Regions from separate parts of the Homo sapiens genome. Here all the other regions are linked to region 2. The links are contacts of gene promoters, found by promoter capture Hi-C in blood cells and fetal thymus (Javierre and others, 2016). All regions are on one chromosome and are shown on one strand. The core of a region is centred on a gene start or on the middle of the fragment in contact, and the rest is flanking DNA. Distances in the headings are between cores, read along the strand shown.

What was found. Contacts are between HindIII fragments. The CHiCAGO score rates a contact against its expected background, and 5 or more counts as called.
Region 1: a fragment that was not itself captured here is called in contact with the fragment with the promoter of C8orf88 in region 2 in 6 of 17 cell types (fetal thymus, neutrophils, naive B cells and 3 more); the score reaches 7.0 in fetal thymus.
Region 3: a contact is called between a fragment that was not itself captured here and the fragment with the promoter of C8orf88 in region 2, in 1 of 17 cell types (fetal thymus). The highest score is 8.1, in fetal thymus.
Region 4: a fragment that was not itself captured here is called in contact with the fragment with the promoter of C8orf88 in region 2 in 5 of 17 cell types (fetal thymus, monocytes, non-activated CD4 T cells and 2 more); the score reaches 12.5 in fetal thymus.
Region 5: a fragment that was not itself captured here is called in contact with the fragment with the promoter of C8orf88 in region 2 in 5 of 17 cell types (fetal thymus, non-activated CD4 T cells, monocytes and 2 more); the score reaches 6.9 in fetal thymus.
Region 6: a fragment that was not itself captured here is called in contact with the fragment with the promoter of C8orf88 in region 2 in 5 of 17 cell types (fetal thymus, non-activated CD4 T cells, total B cells and 2 more); the score reaches 14.4 in fetal thymus.

The regions. Positions count from the first base shown.
Region 1 is chr8:89,923,404-89,926,103 of GRCh38, reverse strand. OSGIN2 (oxidative stress induced growth inhibitor family member 2) reads right to left here. Exons shown (of 6, transcript NM_001126111.3): 6 at 1-1,601. The coding sequence ends at 572. Among named protein-coding and RNA genes, the nearest start is that of OSGIN2, 22 kb to the right of the region's middle. The HindIII fragment of the contact is 606 bases long and covers 1,076-1,681 here.
Region 2 is chr8:90,983,979-90,986,678 of GRCh38, reverse strand. C8orf88 (chromosome 8 open reading frame 88) reads left to right here and starts at 1,441. Exons shown (of 6, transcript NM_001190972.2): 1 at 1,441-1,565. RefSeq lists a silencer at 1,258-1,417. The HindIII fragment of the contact is 2,363 bases long and covers 1-2,164 here.
Region 3 is chr8:89,970,309-89,973,008 of GRCh38, reverse strand. NBN (nibrin) reads left to right here. Exons shown (of 16, transcript NM_002485.5): 6 at 1,719-1,836; 7 at 2,452-2,645. Among named protein-coding and RNA genes, the nearest start is that of NBN, 13 kb to the left of the region's middle. The HindIII fragment of the contact is 5,697 bases long and covers 1-2,700 here.
Region 4 is chr8:89,887,387-89,890,086 of GRCh38, reverse strand. It overlaps LOC124901974 (a long non-coding RNA gene), which reads left to right. Exons shown (of 2, transcript XR_007061001.1): 2 at 1-2,700. Among named protein-coding and RNA genes, the nearest start is that of OSGIN2, 14 kb to the left of the region's middle. The HindIII fragment of the contact is 829 bases long and covers 881-1,709 here.
Region 5 is chr8:89,952,609-89,955,308 of GRCh38, reverse strand. It overlaps NBN (nibrin), which reads left to right. Exons shown (of 16, transcript NM_002485.5): 10 at 1-26; 11 at 1,618-2,065. Among named protein-coding and RNA genes, the nearest start is that of NBN, 31 kb to the left of the region's middle. The HindIII fragment of the contact is 1,582 bases long and covers 525-2,106 here.
Region 6 is chr8:89,905,788-89,908,487 of GRCh38, reverse strand. All of the region lies in intron 1 of OSGIN2 (oxidative stress induced growth inhibitor family member 2), which reads right to left. Among named protein-coding and RNA genes, the nearest start is that of OSGIN2, 4.6 kb to the right of the region's middle. The HindIII fragment of the contact is 6,258 bases long and covers 1-2,700 here.

The DNA.
Region 1 (2,700 bases), core at 129-2,628, 1.1 Mb after region 2:
GTTATACATACCTTATATCCATTTTCATTTAAACCAGTGTCTCAAATTTTTATGAGCATACATATCCCTTGGGGATCTTGTTAAAATGCAGGAAGTAAGTTGTGGGGCCTGAGAGTTTACATTTCTAACAAGCTACAGATGTAAGATGCTGCAGGACCTTGCACCACCCTTTGAACAGCAAGGTGACCCATTATATATTTAAGATAATTTCTGGCATAATGACTGCACAGTTTTATAGATTCAAGGCTGTACTATTTTGGAATCAAGTATAATAAATAACCAAAAATGATCATGAAAAATAAGTTTTGCAAGAAAAGAATGTTTTAGTTAAATGAAAGCTTAAGTTACACCAAGTTGGCAGTGTTTCTATTTGTCTGACAGTGACACCTTTGAAACACTGCAATATAAATCAGGATACCAAATTCTAGTAACTTTTAAAAATGAAGTTACTATAGTTTGAGGCTCTCCTTCAGTTAACTCAAGTCCAGAAAATTCAAGCCAGTACACTGCAAAACCACTATTAAAAATCTTTAATGGCAAACTGTCCATTTTAATTACTTGTAAACTTGCTTTAAGCTATCCCATCTCCTCCTCCTCTTTCAACAAACAAATGCTTTTTCTTCTGTCTTGTAGCTAAACAGCGTGTAACACCCAGCGCCCCTCCCTTTAAAAATCGAACAAAATTGTCTCCAACCAAAGGACCCAATGCAAAAAGGTTGGCTTCTTTAATACACTCATAGGTATATGTATCTATTTCCACAGGATTACCCTTACATGTGATTGGCTGGCTTGACTTATGGCCTAGGTAACACCCTTGATCCTTCAGAAAAGACAGATTAGGATGAGAACCTATCAATACTACTGCTGCAGACAGCTTAAATATTTTCTTCAATCCAGAAACGCTTTGGAGAACACATTTCATGTCCGACTTAAAGGAAAGCACACGGTGCTCGGGAAAGCTGGTATAATCAGATAAAAGATTTGAGTCTACAGAATATGACTGAGTACACATCATATGATAGACTTTATGATATTCAGGATACAGCTTTTTGGGAAGCTGTTTGAAAATTAAGCTTGGATCAGTTACTCGTCTGCGAAACACATGAATCACAGGGATATTACTGTTGTAAGCACACAGTACTGCGTCAGCGGCAGTAAGCCCAGAACCTACAATTAACACTGGATCCACTTTGCCACGCAACTTTCCTTTGTTTATAGCAGCTCCAAATTCAGGCATTGAATGAAACACAAAAGGAAAATCTTCCCCTTCAATTTCCAGATGGGCAGGAGAATCCAGCGTTCCAGTTGCCAGCGCTACATTCTCAGCAAAGAGGCAGAAGGGAACATGAGAACCATCAGCTATTCGCTGATAACCCCTAATTTCCCAGTTTCTCTTGATAAAGTTTGACTTCTCTATCTGTAAATGCTTTGTTGAAATATCTCTGTCTTGAATATCATCATCATCTTGATCTCTGTAGAGTCTTGATACGGAAGTTATGTAAGTATTCTCTCTGAAATTCTTCTGAAGACCCATGACTTTTACATAATGTTTATAGTAGCGAGCTATTTCCTCTGGCATAACTCGATCCCCTTTTAGGCTCCTAAAAAAGGAAAAGGAAAAATATCCTATAAGGATACTACTTTCAGTTTCCATGATTATTACTTATCTACCTAGTAAGCTTTTATAGCTTTTTAATTCTGCTGGACTGTCTTAGCTATACATTATCCTAACACTTAAAAAAAAAACTATTTTTAGTTAAAAATCTTCATGAGTTACTTTTTAGCAAAAAATTGGAAGAAGTCCCATGAGAGCAGAGACTATATTTAATGCACTTCTGTTTCCCCAGTGCCATGCATAGTGTCTGCTCAAATACACTGCTTGATAAACTTTCATTAAATGAAGGTATTAAAATGTGGATATTTGAAAATTGGACTACTTTATCTCACAATTATAATCTATAACTATCAACTGAATTATTTTCATGGCAATCATTGAGATATTACAGGCCTAACTAATATCTATGCTTCTTAAAATTATACATGCCATCTTGACATGAATTTTAGTACACTGCTATTTTCCTAACAGCTGAAAATAATTCAGATCTGTCTTTTGCTAAACAAAGTCATCTTACATCTAGGTTAAGTAACAGATGACATTTCACTCTATGTGTTTTCCTACTCACAAGCAGAGCTAAAACATAACTGTTATGAAAAACTTGCATTAGTCTGTATGTCATTTTCCAAAGTTCAAAGCAACAAGCAAAATCCCCTGCCCCAATCAGAGATAAGAAGCAAATTATTTGACATAATTCATGATGTGGATGCTCTTCAATTTACAGTAGGGTTTGTCCTGATAGACCAATTGTAAGTTGAAAATATTTTAAGTCAAAAATGCATTTAATAACAACTAGCTTACTGAACATCAAAGCTTAGCCTAGCTTGCCTTAAATGTGCTCAGAGCACTTACACTAGCCTACAGTTGGGCAAAATCATCTAACAAAATGCCTATTTTATAATAAAGTGTTGAATACCTCATGTGACTTATTGAATTCTATACTGAAAGTGAAAAACAGAACAGTTGCATTGGTACCCAAAGTATAGTTTGTATGAAATGCACATCACTTTGGTACCACCTTAAAACCTAAAAACCTTAAGTGAAACCATGATTAATCAGGGACTGTTTGTAACTTGTAATGGGAA
Region 2 (2,700 bases), core at 192-2,691:
GTATGAATTCTAGATTATCCTTGTAGATGCCAAAATTTTATGTCATTATCAATAAGATTTTGAAAAGTTTCGATATGTTTATATGGTTCATTTTTCTTCCTCAATTATCAAAAAATCAAGGAGTCTGTCTAGTCTAATTTCTCTCTTCCTCTCAATAAATTACTAATACTGATCTGAATTGGAATTCTTCCAATTTACATTTTTGTCACAATAGTTTCTACTGACTTCATACAGTGATATGCACAAAATAATTTTATTGTAAGATGTATATAAAATTATACATGCTTCATTGTTAAGTATATTCCTGAAGAAGAAAACTTCTGTTGTGACTAGATGGATGAGAACCACATCCTGCACTTAAGATTTTCTACATCTGGTGGTTGGAATATATTGATTCCACTGTGCAGACTTCTGGTGCCTCACCCCAAGGGATGCCCTTTTATCATGACCCATCTCTGACCCTGGACCCTAGGTCTCTGATGCCAGGCGAGTTGTCTCAGTGGATAGTAGGAGTGTTTCTGGAAGCCATTTCTAAACGGAGACAGCTCCAATAACTTGACTATACATGGAAGTGCTTGTGAAACTTCATACCTTCCAAAATGGTAAATCCTGATAGTGCCCCACTTAAAACCGTTCAGTGTTTGCCAGTGCATTTTCAACTGTCCTTTTGGTGCTTGGGGACGTGAGGGACTGCCACCTCCACGTCCCTCAGTACAAGCAGACAGTCCCCCTCTGGGGACACTCAAAGATAATGAAAAATTAGCAAAAGGATTGAAGGTGAAGATTAAAAAGAAATGATTCGGATGGAGTTGCCTTAATTCATTTTGTTCCTTTCAGGATGGCAGTCTGTGTGAAACGCTGTATCCCTGGTCTGAGGTAAACCAGGTCTCAAACATCTTCCTCCCTGCCAACCCGAATCCCGACACCCACTAAATGCACCAAGGGGAAAGCAGCGCCTGCCAGCAGCTCTGACGGGGGACAGGAGTAGGGTGGACTCAGTCGTCAGCACGACGGCGGCCTCCCTCACAGAGGCGGCCTCCCTCACAGACGCTGCCTGGAACCCGCCGCCAAGCCCCCAGCAGGCGGCCCGCCTGGCGCCTCCCAGTCTTCGCACAAGCAGGGCCACGGTCTGGGGCCCCCAAGGCCGTTCACGCGGGCGCGCCCCGTCGAGGGCTAGCCTGTCAGCGCCTCACTCGCGGCCTCCTACCCTAGACGACCGGCTCTGGGTGGCGCCGCTCCAACCCCACGCGCCCAGCTCGCCCGGGAAAGCGCGCGCCACCCTTTTAACGGTTCTACCCCGGCAGGGGTGCGGCTGCTCTCGAGGCTCAGCGCCCGAGGCCACGCCCCGCGCCCGCCCTGGGCCCGCCTCGTGCCCCTCGGAGCCGCCTCCCGCCCCGCCCCCCGCCCCTCGCCCCCCGCCCCTCGCCCCCCGCCGCCGCCACCGCGGTCAGCCAGCGGACCAGCGGCAGGAGCCGTTCCCCGACGGGCAGCAGGGCGCTCGGCCTCCGCGTGTGGGCTGAGCGCGGCGACGCTGCTGCCCCGAAATCCCCGTGGATTTTGAGTCGGTAAGTGGCTAGGGAGGATGAGCGACACTGGGGGACGGAAGTCGGGCCCCGTGGTGTGGAGGAGGCGGGTGGGCGCCGTCTCCCAGGCCCGACCCCGGGAAAGTTGAGGCGAGGAAGAGAAGCTCTGAGGTGGGTCGGGAAATCTCTCAGGGCCCCTTCAGTACCCTGTGGACCCTGAATGGGAGTGGGATGGGAGCGAGAGCGTCGGATGAGGGGAAAGAAAGTGTAGGGGGCCAGGGGAGCCCGACGGAGGGGCAAGTGGCCGAGACCAAAGCCATCGCCAAAAAAGGAGCTAAGTACACAGCTCCCCTTGGCTCTGCCCCAGCACCTGGTGCCAGGCGGTGGGAGGCTTTCAAGACGATTTGCCCCCTCCACCCGGTGGCACAAGGTTTTCATTGCTGGTGTTTTAGTCAAAGCTACGGAAAGGACAGTTACATGACTAAAGTAATCACAGACACCTATTACCTGGACAGCTTTAGCCCATCCGAATGTTAAATTGTGTTTTGTTTTGAGAAATCCCTCAAATAGACCAAAAAAAAAATTAAATTAGTTATAAAGAGAAGGCATGAAATGGAAGATATGTTGGAACTCTCCAAGCTTCTAGTTTTTTGATATTTTCGTTTTAATTTTTCCTTAATAGTGCAACCAGATATATGGAACGTGAAATGTCTTTCACCACTTGAGTCATAGGTGGTTTATTTCTTACTCCCCGATGTTTCCTGTATGTTTCTCTTCATCTATCATTTTGTCAGTGTGAGCAGTTTACTTACAAGCAGTATTGGGTTTCAAGGAATCCTAACTTTGTAATGTTTTGAAGTTGGAAATTGAGATGAAATTTTATCTGGTTATCATATGGGAATTATACACAAGGTAAATTCAAATATGGTCTTTTCATTTCATTATTTCACTTTATATGATCTTATTTCTCAACGGCAGCGGTAGCATCAGTACTTTCCAAAGAAGACTAGAATTTATATTGGAGTTTAAGTATAGTACTCAGCTTCTAAAAACAGTGCATAGTATATTTCATATGCTGTGATCTATGGTTAGTATGGCAGTATACCATGTCTGTAGCGTGAGGAAAGCACAGTACTCCCTAATTTATTTAGTATTCTAAGAAAAATGGTAAATTGAA
Region 3 (2,700 bases), core at 201-2,700, 1.0 Mb after region 2:
TAAGCTACAGTTAGCTGCTCCCTGGCTACTGTAAACTGTTATCTATGGCATAATTAAGAATGACAGTGTGAATAATAGAAAGCTGTAGATAATTTAAAAATCATTCAACTTTAGTGTTTTGGGAAAGCAGGAAGAATCTCACATCTACTCAGTCATAGTTTTATAGTCATGTTTGACTGTAACACACAGTCATATGTGTTAAACATTTCCTTACTGTTTTTGTCTGTAACTGGCTCTGTAATCTGTCCTAGTGTTGTTACATTATTGTGTGAACTAATTGGTAAACTAGTTATTTGTATATAAGTAAAGTGTTAGTTGGCTTTTACACTAAGAAAGAAGTATAAGTTATGGGGGAATATTTATTAGGAGATAAAGGATAAAAAGGATTCAAAGAGATATTAAAATTGATCCTTTTTATGTGTCCGAATGTCTACTAACTTTCCAGTGCTCTTATTGTAGATTTAGTTTTTGTTAACAGTTAAAATAGTTTCCACTGTTCTCTGTATATTTTAAAAGTAAAATAAATAGAATTTTAAAGTCGGTTGTTTAGAAAAACCATAACTAACGCAGTTGCCTGCATTCTGTCCTGCCAAGTGAGTCTGCTCTTGCCTGCAGATAACTCATTTGAGATTGCAGCTTCCAGAAATCATTGCTTTAAAACAGACTTACAGCATCTATTGTAGTGAAATTAAAATACATGCATCAGTTATCAAAAAAATTTTAAAGTATTGTAACTCTTCAATCATAACTTAGCTTTACTTTATGAAATATGTATGTTTCCAAGGAGAAGTCCAGGGGAAAGATGTAAGGTAATTAGTTCTAAAGTGCTGGATAGTGACTCTTAATGACTGCAGTGTTTTTACCACGTTGGATGTTGATCTCTGCAGATAGTTAACTCTTGATTTGTGACTGATTGTCCAGGTTGTGAATTTCTCCCTCCCTACATTGTCCCCTTATCATCATCATCATGGGTTAGTAATTTTTACTGAAAGGAAGAGAGACAAGTCGAAATGCCGGTCAGTTATGAACAGCTGTAGCAAAAGATCTGATTATACAGGAAGTTGAAACTCTAGACTGATGAGAGGCTTAAGAATTATCTGTTGATATTTCTCCATTTCTTATTTTCCTTTATTTTCATGGATGATTAAGATGTTCTTATAGCATTAAATTAAAGAGCTAAAACATTATATTCTTTAGTCTTGTTTTGGAAATTTTATTTGAACTGAGTAAATAATGTAAGTTTAAAAATTTCCTGAACTTCTCCAAAGAGATCTCTAACAAAACACTCATAATAGATTGTGCTAGTAGAATTGAAACATGAGCGTTTTAATAGATATTGGCTCCTAAGTAAACACAAGATGCTAATAGAATTTGATCTTTATGGATGATGTTTCTCTCAAACTTTTGTAATTCAGACACCTTGTTTGAGTCATGTGTGTTTAATGTTCATCCTGTTATGATTGTCTACCTTGGATTATTTATTTTGAGATATTAATGATCAATTCTAGCTCTTCTTTGTGTCACCTGCCACCATATTTCTAGAAAACGCGATTAGATGCTTTTTGTCATTTTGTCCCAGATAAAATTCTTACTTAAAAAAAATACTATAAAGGTATTATGGAAATTATGCCTTTTGAGTGTCAGATAGTCACTCCGTTTACAATTTAATAGCAAACATAGTAGTATATAATTAGAATATACTTTAATTATTTTTACAGTTTTTACCCACCTCTTGATGAACCATCTATTGGAAGTAAAAATGTTGATCTGTCAGGACGGCAGGAAAGAAAACAAATCTTCAAAGGGAAAACATTTATATTTTTGAATGCCAAACAGGTAATTATGTTATAAGCTAAATTTTCCTAAAGAATACATTACAAACTAGGATACATTATTAACTCTTATCAGTAGTTGTTAACGTATTTCATTTTGGGATTTTGTGTAAAAGTGTGAAGTAGAATAAAAAAACCCCAGGCACCAGACCTGCCCAGTGATCATGGCTGTGATTACGGGGTTTCTTAAAATCTGTGATAACTGGCCTATTCATAAATATGCAAGTGAGAAGGACAGGAAACTTAGTTTTAACTTCTTTAGTTAGTAAGCTAAACCTCTTTAGTTAGTAAGCTCACTAAAGAAGTTAAATCAGTTGAATATGTTCTGTGTACCAAAGTGGGGTTTCCAAGAGTTTATGTTGTAGTGGAGAAATGCAGATAAGCCCACAGTTAGAGTGCTGTTAGGAAGTGTGATGAGGAACCACAGAGAGTGTAACAGTTCCAGGGCCGCAGAGACCTGTTGAACTAGGGACTTTCTCAAAGTGGAAGCTGAAATGACCTACTCAAGAAGTAGCACCAAGTCTTCTTGAATTGTACTTCTATGTTTCCCAAATCAAATTCTTATGTGTTCAAAAAATTACTACATTTTACTTTAAAAAATGTTTCCTTCCATTTTTAGCATAAGAAATTGAGTTCCGCAGTTGTCTTTGGAGGTGGGGAAGCTAGGTTGATAACAGAAGAGAATGAAGAAGAACATAATTTCTTTTTGGCTCCGGGAACGTGTGTTGTTGATACAGGAATAACAAACTCACAGACCTTAATTCCTGACTGTCAGAAGAAATGGATTCAGTCAATAATGGATATGCTCCAAAGGTATAGAATTATTCTTTATTAGTAAAAAACTGCAAGTAGGAGATTTTATGTTTAA
Region 4 (2,700 bases), core at 46-2,545, 1.1 Mb after region 2:
GAAAAGTACAATTTATTTTTGTGACTATTGTAGCAGTCAGGTTCAGTTACAGAGAATAGAATTCATAGAAATCATTCTATGTGCTCTATAATTTAAAGATAAAAAGAATTTCTCAACAAGTATTACATATTCTGCTGAATCATAGGAGGGCTGAAGAAACATAGAACTCTGAGAAAAATTCCTAGAGTCACACTATAAGAGCAAGCCACCAAAGAAGCTGCTGCCTGTCTCTGAACAAAAAGCTGCCTACAAAATCAGAAAACTGCAGCTACAGCTGCTGACTCCAGAATTATACTGGACATGCAACATTTTAATTTTTTATTGTCTGTGTCCCTCTACTACAAAGTCAGTTCAAGAAGTCAGGAATTTTTTTCTTTGTTCACTGTTATATACACAGCACTGAGAATGAATCTTGACTTGTAGTAGGAATGAATACTCACAGTCATAGGTAGCACTCACCCACTAAACCCAGCTGGGCTGATATTGGGTAAACCTTTTAACTAAGTGGAAAGAATAAACATGAGTCATGAGAGATTTATTTCTCTGTCTCATAGTCTGTAAGGTCAGTTGGTAGGCTCAATTTGCATTACTACAAGATTAAAGAAAAGAGGAAAAGTAGAGAACAACAGAGAAAGAAAAGATAAATCCTAAGAATTTACATTTTCAACATCAGAATAGTAGAAGTTCCTGAAAGTTAGAGAAGAGAAAGTGGTTGGATGAAACTTGCTTAATAAGAAAAAAATTTCAGAACTAAAGGGAAACATGATTCTGCAAATGTAGAAGACCTACTGAGTACTGAACAGAAAAAAGAAAAATATGTATATACATAGATATATCATGAAATTTAAGGATAGCAAGAATGAAGAGGATTCTAAAAGCTTCTAGGAAGAAAGTTCAAGTACTCCATAAAGGAATGAGAATCAGGCTGGCAACAAACTTTTGAGTGAGTGTTAAGATACAAGAAACCCTAAAAGTTCCTAGGAGAAATGACTTTAAACTTAGAATTCCTTTTTTTAATTTGGTCCACACAGGGTCTCACTTTGTTGCCCAGGCTGCTGTACAATGGCCCAGTCATGGCTCACTAAAGCCTTGACCTCCTAGGCTTAAGTGATCCTCCCTCTCTGCCTTCTGAGTAGCTGGGACTACAGGCGTAAGCCACCATGCCAGCTAATTTTTTTTATTTTTTATAGAGACAGGGCTGGGTGCGGTGGCTCACACCTGTAATCCCAGCACTTTGAAAGGCCAAGGCAGGTGGATCACCTGAGGTCAGGAGTTCGAGACCAGCCTGGCCAACGTGGTGAAACCCCGTCTCTAATAAAAATATAAAAATTAGCTGAGCATGGTGGCGGGCACCTGTAATCCCAGCTACTTGGGAGGCTGAGGCAGGAGAATCCCTTGAACCCAGGAGACGGAGGTTGCAGTGAGCCGTGATCACGCCATTTCACTCTAGCCTGGGAGACACGAACAAAACTCCCCCTAAAAAAAAAAAATTGGTTAGAGACAGGGTCTCGCTGTGTTGCGGAGGCTGGTCTTGAGCTCTTGGGTTCAAGCCATCCTCCCTCGTCAGCCTCCCAAAATATTGAGATTTGAGATTACAGGTGTGAGCCACCACGCCTCCTGAACTTGGAATTCTATACCATGCCAAACTATTGATAAAATAATGTGGGCAGAATGAAAAAGAAAATGAAACCCAAACTTTTGAGAAAGCTTTGCCTCACTAATATTCTTTTTTAGGATGTTTCTTGAGAATACAGGCCAAGAAAACAAGGGACTTGTTGAAGGAAATGAAGTGGATTGGGTCTGTGAAACAGTGGAACAAATTCAGAAATGCAGTGAACGCAAGTTCCAGGATAGTTATGCAACAGGAAGCCTGTCTATCCAGATTGAAAGACTTCAGGACTGTAAGAACTGCCTGTAGAAAAAAAGGAGTTCCTGGATTTGCTAGTATTCTGGAAATGTTGGAAGAATCTAGTCTAATGATGCCATAAAGGAAGACAATTCAAGACAAAGTAAAAAGGCAATTTATAATTTAATTGAGTAGGGTATATGACAAAAAGCTGTACCAAAAAACAAATAGAGACATAGAAGGTAACTTTCATGGACAGTGAATACTGTTTACACAGATGTAGCATAAATAGCCTTTACTGATTTTCAAAAATACAGTCCACCTGTAGGCAAAGCAAGAATTGCTTAACTATAGTTACAAAACAGGTTGTAAATGTGAAGCATGATAGTGTAATAAAGGAACCAAAGATGAAGACAAGGGTAAGGGATACAAAATTCTTATCTGGCAAAGTGAAGAGGGATTGTTTATATTGAAGCAAGAACTGTGAGTTACATTATTTAAAGTTGCAAATGTAATAAGTGCAATGCTGACTAGTGATATAATTTATTAGCTGTTATGAGTAGGGAAAATTTGTGGTGGTTTAATGTAGTTAAATCTTCATCTATCTTGGCAGGAAGTGAGTATGCAACATCTAAGATTGAGACATCAAAAATTCACAGCATGAGCAGATTGTTTACAGATGGGGTAACTAAAAACAATGAGGTAAATGTGGTTGCCTCTGGGAAAAACACTGGAGGCATTGGAAAGGGTTGGGTTGGGGGCCTGTTGTTTTTTGCATTCGCCCCCTTGAGTTCATTTGTTCTTTCATCTAACAGACACTTACTGTTTGCCAAACACATGTAAATGAAACGACT
Region 5 (2,700 bases), core at 66-2,565, 1.0 Mb after region 2:
TACTTTCAGCCGTCTACCAAAAAAAGGTCTGTTTTTGATAACTTCTCTCATGTCTCTGAAAAAAAAATGAAAGTTTTTTATACTGTTGTAGAATGGTATTGTCTTTAGTCTGTTCTGATTAAGTATGCTTCTGCTGCTGCAGCTTTTTGACCGCTTTCCCTCTCAGAAATGTCCCTGATCTCCTTCACTAGAGCCACTAGACAGTTTCTCCTTCATCTCCTTCTATGTATGTACTTACGTGTTATTTTACTTGCCGCAATTCTCTTCAATAAGAACTAACCCCCTGTCTCAGCTCTAAAATCACATTTCTGCTGGTTTTCCTTGAGAACCGCTCTCACTCCCTCTAGGACCATATTCCATCAATTATTTTCTCAATTTCCATATTTTGAATATATTGATCATCCCAGATTTTTTTCTTCTGTTTTCAAAAGTTCAATCTCACCTTTATTTTTGAAAACCTTCTCTTGACCTGGTTTCTTCCTCTAGCTACTGCTGCCTTTTTTCTTGTGCCGTCCCGTTAAGCTTCTCAGAAAAGATGATGTTATTTCTCCCATTTCTGTATGAACTTTGGAGGACTTCTTTTCTTCCCCGTACTGCTCTTTATACTCTACCTTCAGGTTTTGAGACTTTATTACTGACAATCAACATATGTGGCCCTAACTTTTCCTTTAAACTTTACTTCTTTTCCACAGGGGTTTCATGCTGTTTCCCCAGTAATAGACCTAAAAACTTTTTCTGTCCTCTCACCAAATGTGGTTTTGTTTTTTTTTTTTAGTAAAATAGCTTATGTTGTTACAATTTTTGACTCTTGTCCTCTGGCTCCTGAAATCAGTGTTATTGATTGTTATTTTCAGTGTCTGTCAATCCCTCCATTTCCATCTATTGCCAGGTTCAAACTCTGACCACCTAAATTATTACAAAAACCTCTCGATTGGTTGGTTTGTCCAGTACCTTGGCATTAAATTAGTGTTAATAGAACATTGGGTTGACTGTTCTTGTTCAACATGAATCCAATAAACTCCTGGAGAACAGAGTCCCAGGTCTTTGTGTCCTCTATGGGCTTAGTACAGTTTGCATAAAGTGTTTGGTATTTATTGAATGAATGATACAGTATTGTATAGGAAACTTTTAGTGATATATTCACATAGCATTTGCAGTATACAGTCAGTACCGTATTGTAGATTTAGTCACTCTGACTTACTGTCTTGAATCCATCTCTCATTAACCCATCAGATTGTATTCCCAGGGCAGTTTTCCCTGCCCACAACCTTACTACGTTATAAAGTAAGTTGCTGTCTCTTGGCAACAGTTTCTTTGTATTTTTATATTTTTCTACCTTTTCCTGTAATTTATCAACTAATGCAACTTAAGCAGAGAAGATAGAGATCACCGTACTGCTTTAGCCACAGGGTCCGTCAGTTCTATCAAAACAGCAGAATGTATGTGAGTTCTGCACTGTTTTCAAAGGTCTATTTGTTGATTTCCAGTAATATTGTTAATAAAATCAAGAGTACATTGTGAACTAAATGGAGGGAGTGATGAATATTGCCAAACTAAATGGTTACTTAGCTGTGTTCATTTTCTTGTTTTGTTTTCTTCTTTTTTTTTAAATCTAAGGGAAAGGGATGAAGAAAATCAAGAAATGTCTTCATGCAAATCAGCAAGAATAGAAACGTCTTGTTCTCTTTTAGAACAAACACAACCTGCTACACCCTCATTGTGGAAAAATAAGGAGCAGCATCTATCTGAGAATGAGCCTGTGGACACAAACTCAGACAATAACTTATTTACAGATACAGATTTAAAATCTATTGTGAAAAATTCTGCCAGTAAATCTCATGCTGCAGAAAAGCTAAGATCAAATAAAAAAAGGGAAATGGATGATGTGGCCATAGAAGATGAAGTATTGGAACAGTTATTCAAGGACACAAAACCAGAGTTAGAAATTGATGTGAAAGTTCAAAAACAGGAGGAAGATGTCAATGTTAGAAAAAGGCCAAGGATGGATATAGAAACAAATGACACTTTCAGTGATGAAGCAGTACCAGAAAGTAGCAAAATATCTGTAAGTAACATTTTAAATGAGAGGTATAGTACATAGAAGCTTAGAATGCTAACAGGTACTTTCGATTTTGTATTGACAGTATGAGCATCCATTAATGTCTTTAACACTCAGTACTATAGAAATTTGTTGGTTGATAAGGTAAATGGTAAATGTTAAAAGTACAGTGATTCTTCAGTAGTGTAAAATAAATGACCACAAATTAAACTTTCATATGAGATTGTTTTACTAGATTTCCAAATTAGGCTGTACTATTATAAAAGACATTTGGCTATGATGATAAGTGTAGGAGATGCTTCAGTATAAGAAACAGGCACAGAAAGATGAAGTTAGTAAAACAAAGTATCTACTCAATAAATTTTTAGGATATAACATCACTAGGAATTTTCATTTTCATTTAGGTTTTGTAATGTCCTTGTCTATTTTCATGACTGTTGATAATTTGTCTTACCCACTTTGATCTATGAAAACACCTGAGATTATTTTCTTTTTTGTATACATCAGTAAGTTGACTTATCTGTAGATTTGTTAGCTCTTTAGATGAGAGCACAGACCTGATGAAGTAAAACTTTAATATTCTGATCTCCAATGTGGATTCATTAGCTCCACTCATTCATGGCTGTGGTCATCCTCTCCAG
Region 6 (2,700 bases), core at 68-2,567, 1.1 Mb after region 2:
TCCCAGAGGAGGTTGATAAACAGAAAAGAATCAGGCAGAGACAGGCATTTCTACTTCCCTATAACCTTCAGAGTTCCCAGTCTACCCTAGGATAGGCGAGACTTCCTCAGGACATACTGAGAGCTTTCTTGAAGCAAAGAAAGTAACCTGTACCCCAAATATTTGGTTTCCCCTTACATAGCCTCTTTTGACCAAAACAGACACCAATCAGACATGGCTACTAAGGGAAACCCCTCCTCACAGTGCAAGCCTACCCTTGGGAGGAAGTTTTATATGCTCAATCCATCTATTTCTGACTCATTCCAACTACTGCCTCTGATCAGATCCAGATGCCTCAGCTGTCTTGCCCATGCCCGCTTCTACCTCTTGGCAACTGCATTTAACATGTTTTATATTCTGCTCTGTCCCTGGTATTTCTCCAAAGTATGTGCAAAGGTTAGGTTCTCCTGTACCTTTGGAGGCTTCTGATCAAAGTCATTTTGATCAGAAACCTCCAAACCACTGCTCAAAGAAATCAGAGATGACACACACAAACCACTGCTCAATGAAATCAGAGGCGACGGGAATGGGAAAACATTCCATATTCATGTGTAGGAAGAATCAGTATCATTAAAATGGCTATGCAAATTCATACAAACTGCCCAAAGCAATTTATAGATACAATGCTATTCCCATTAAACTCCCGATGACATTCTTCAAAGAACTAGAAAAAACTATTTTAAAATTCATATGAAACCAAAAAAGAGCCTAAATAGCCAAGGCAATCCTAAGTGAAAAGAACAAAGCGGGAAGCATCACCTCACCTGACTTCAGACTATTCTACAGGGCTACAGTAACCAAAACAGCATGGTACTGGTACAAAAACAGACACATAGACCAATGGAAGAGAAAACCCACAAATAAGACCACACACCTGCAACTATCTGATCTTTGACAAACCTGACAAAAATAAGCAATGGGGAAAGGATTCCCTATTCAATAAATAGTGCTGGGATAACTAGTTAGCCATATGCAGAAGATCTAAACTGGATACCTTCCTTATACCACATACAAAAAGTAACTCTAGATGGATTAAAGACTCAAATATAAAACCCCAAACTATATAAACCCTGGAAGACAACCTAGGCAATACCATTCAGGACACAGGCACAAGCAGAGTTTGATGAGGAAGACGCCAAAGGCAATTGCAACAAAAGCAAAAAAAAATTGACAAATGGTATCTAATTAAACTAACGAGCTTCTGCACAGCAAAAGAAACTATCAACAGAGTAAACAGACAACCAACAGAATGGGAGAAAATTTTTGCAAACTATGCATCCAACAAAGGTCTAATATCCAGCATCTATGAGGAACTTAAATTTACAAGAAAAAACAACCCCACAGAAAAGTGGGCAAAGGACATGAACAGACACTTCTCAAAAGAAGACATACAGGCAGCCAACAATCATATGAAAAAAAGTTCAACATCACTCATTAGAGAAACGCAAATCAAAACCACAATGAGGCACCATCTAACACCAGTCAAAATGGCTATTAAAAAGTCAAAAAATAACAAATGCTGACAAGGTTATGGAGAAAAGGGAATGCTTATATGTTGGGGGGAGTGTATTAGTTCAGCCATTGTGGAATAGTGTGGTGATTCCTCAAAGACCTAAAGATAGAAATACCATTCCACCCAGCAATCCCATTACTGGGTATATACCCAAAGGAATAAAAATAATTCTATTATACAGACAAATGCACGTGTACATTCACTGCAGCACTATTCACAATGGCAAAGGCATGGAATCAACCTAAACACCCATCAATGATAGACTGGATAAAGAAAACATGGTACATATGCACCATAGAATACTATACAGCCACAAAAAAGAATGAGATCAGGTCCTTTGCAGGGACATAGATGGAGCTGGAGGCCCTTATCCTTAGCAAACTAACACAGGAACAGAAAACCAAAGACCACATGTTGTCACTTATAAGGGGGAGCTAAATGAGGAGAACACATGGACACACAGAGGGGAACAACACACACTGGGGCCCACCCGAGGATGAAGGGTGGGAGGAGGGAGAGGATCAAGAAAAACAACTAATGCAAGTTTGTTCAACCCACATGCGGCCCAGGATGGCTTTGAATGTGGCTCAACACAAATTCGTAGACTTTCTTAAAACATTATGAGATTTTCTTGCCATTTTTTTAAGCTCATCAGCTATCATCAATGTGAGTGTATTTTATGTGTGGCCCAAGACAATTCTTCCAATGTGGTCCAGGGAAGCAAAAAGAGTGGACACCCCTGAACTAATGGGTACTAGGCTTAATACCTGCGTGATGAAACAAACTCCCATGACACATGTTTACCTATGTAAGAAACCTGAACTTGCATCCCTGTACTTAAAAGAAAAAACAGAATATTAAGTTTTTCAATCCATGAATATAGAATTCCTTTCCATTTATTTAGACCTTTAATTTCTCTCAACATTTTGTAGTTTTCAGTGCATAAGTATTGCATTTATTAAATTTATTCTTATGTATTTCATTTTTTGATGCTATTATATAAATGAAATACCTTTGTTAATTTCATTTTAAATTATTCAGTGTTAATGTACAGAAATACAATTCACTTTTGTATGTTGATTTTGCATCCTGCAACACCGTTGAATTTATATATTAGGTCTAGTAGTTTTTTGCATGTGCAGCCCTCA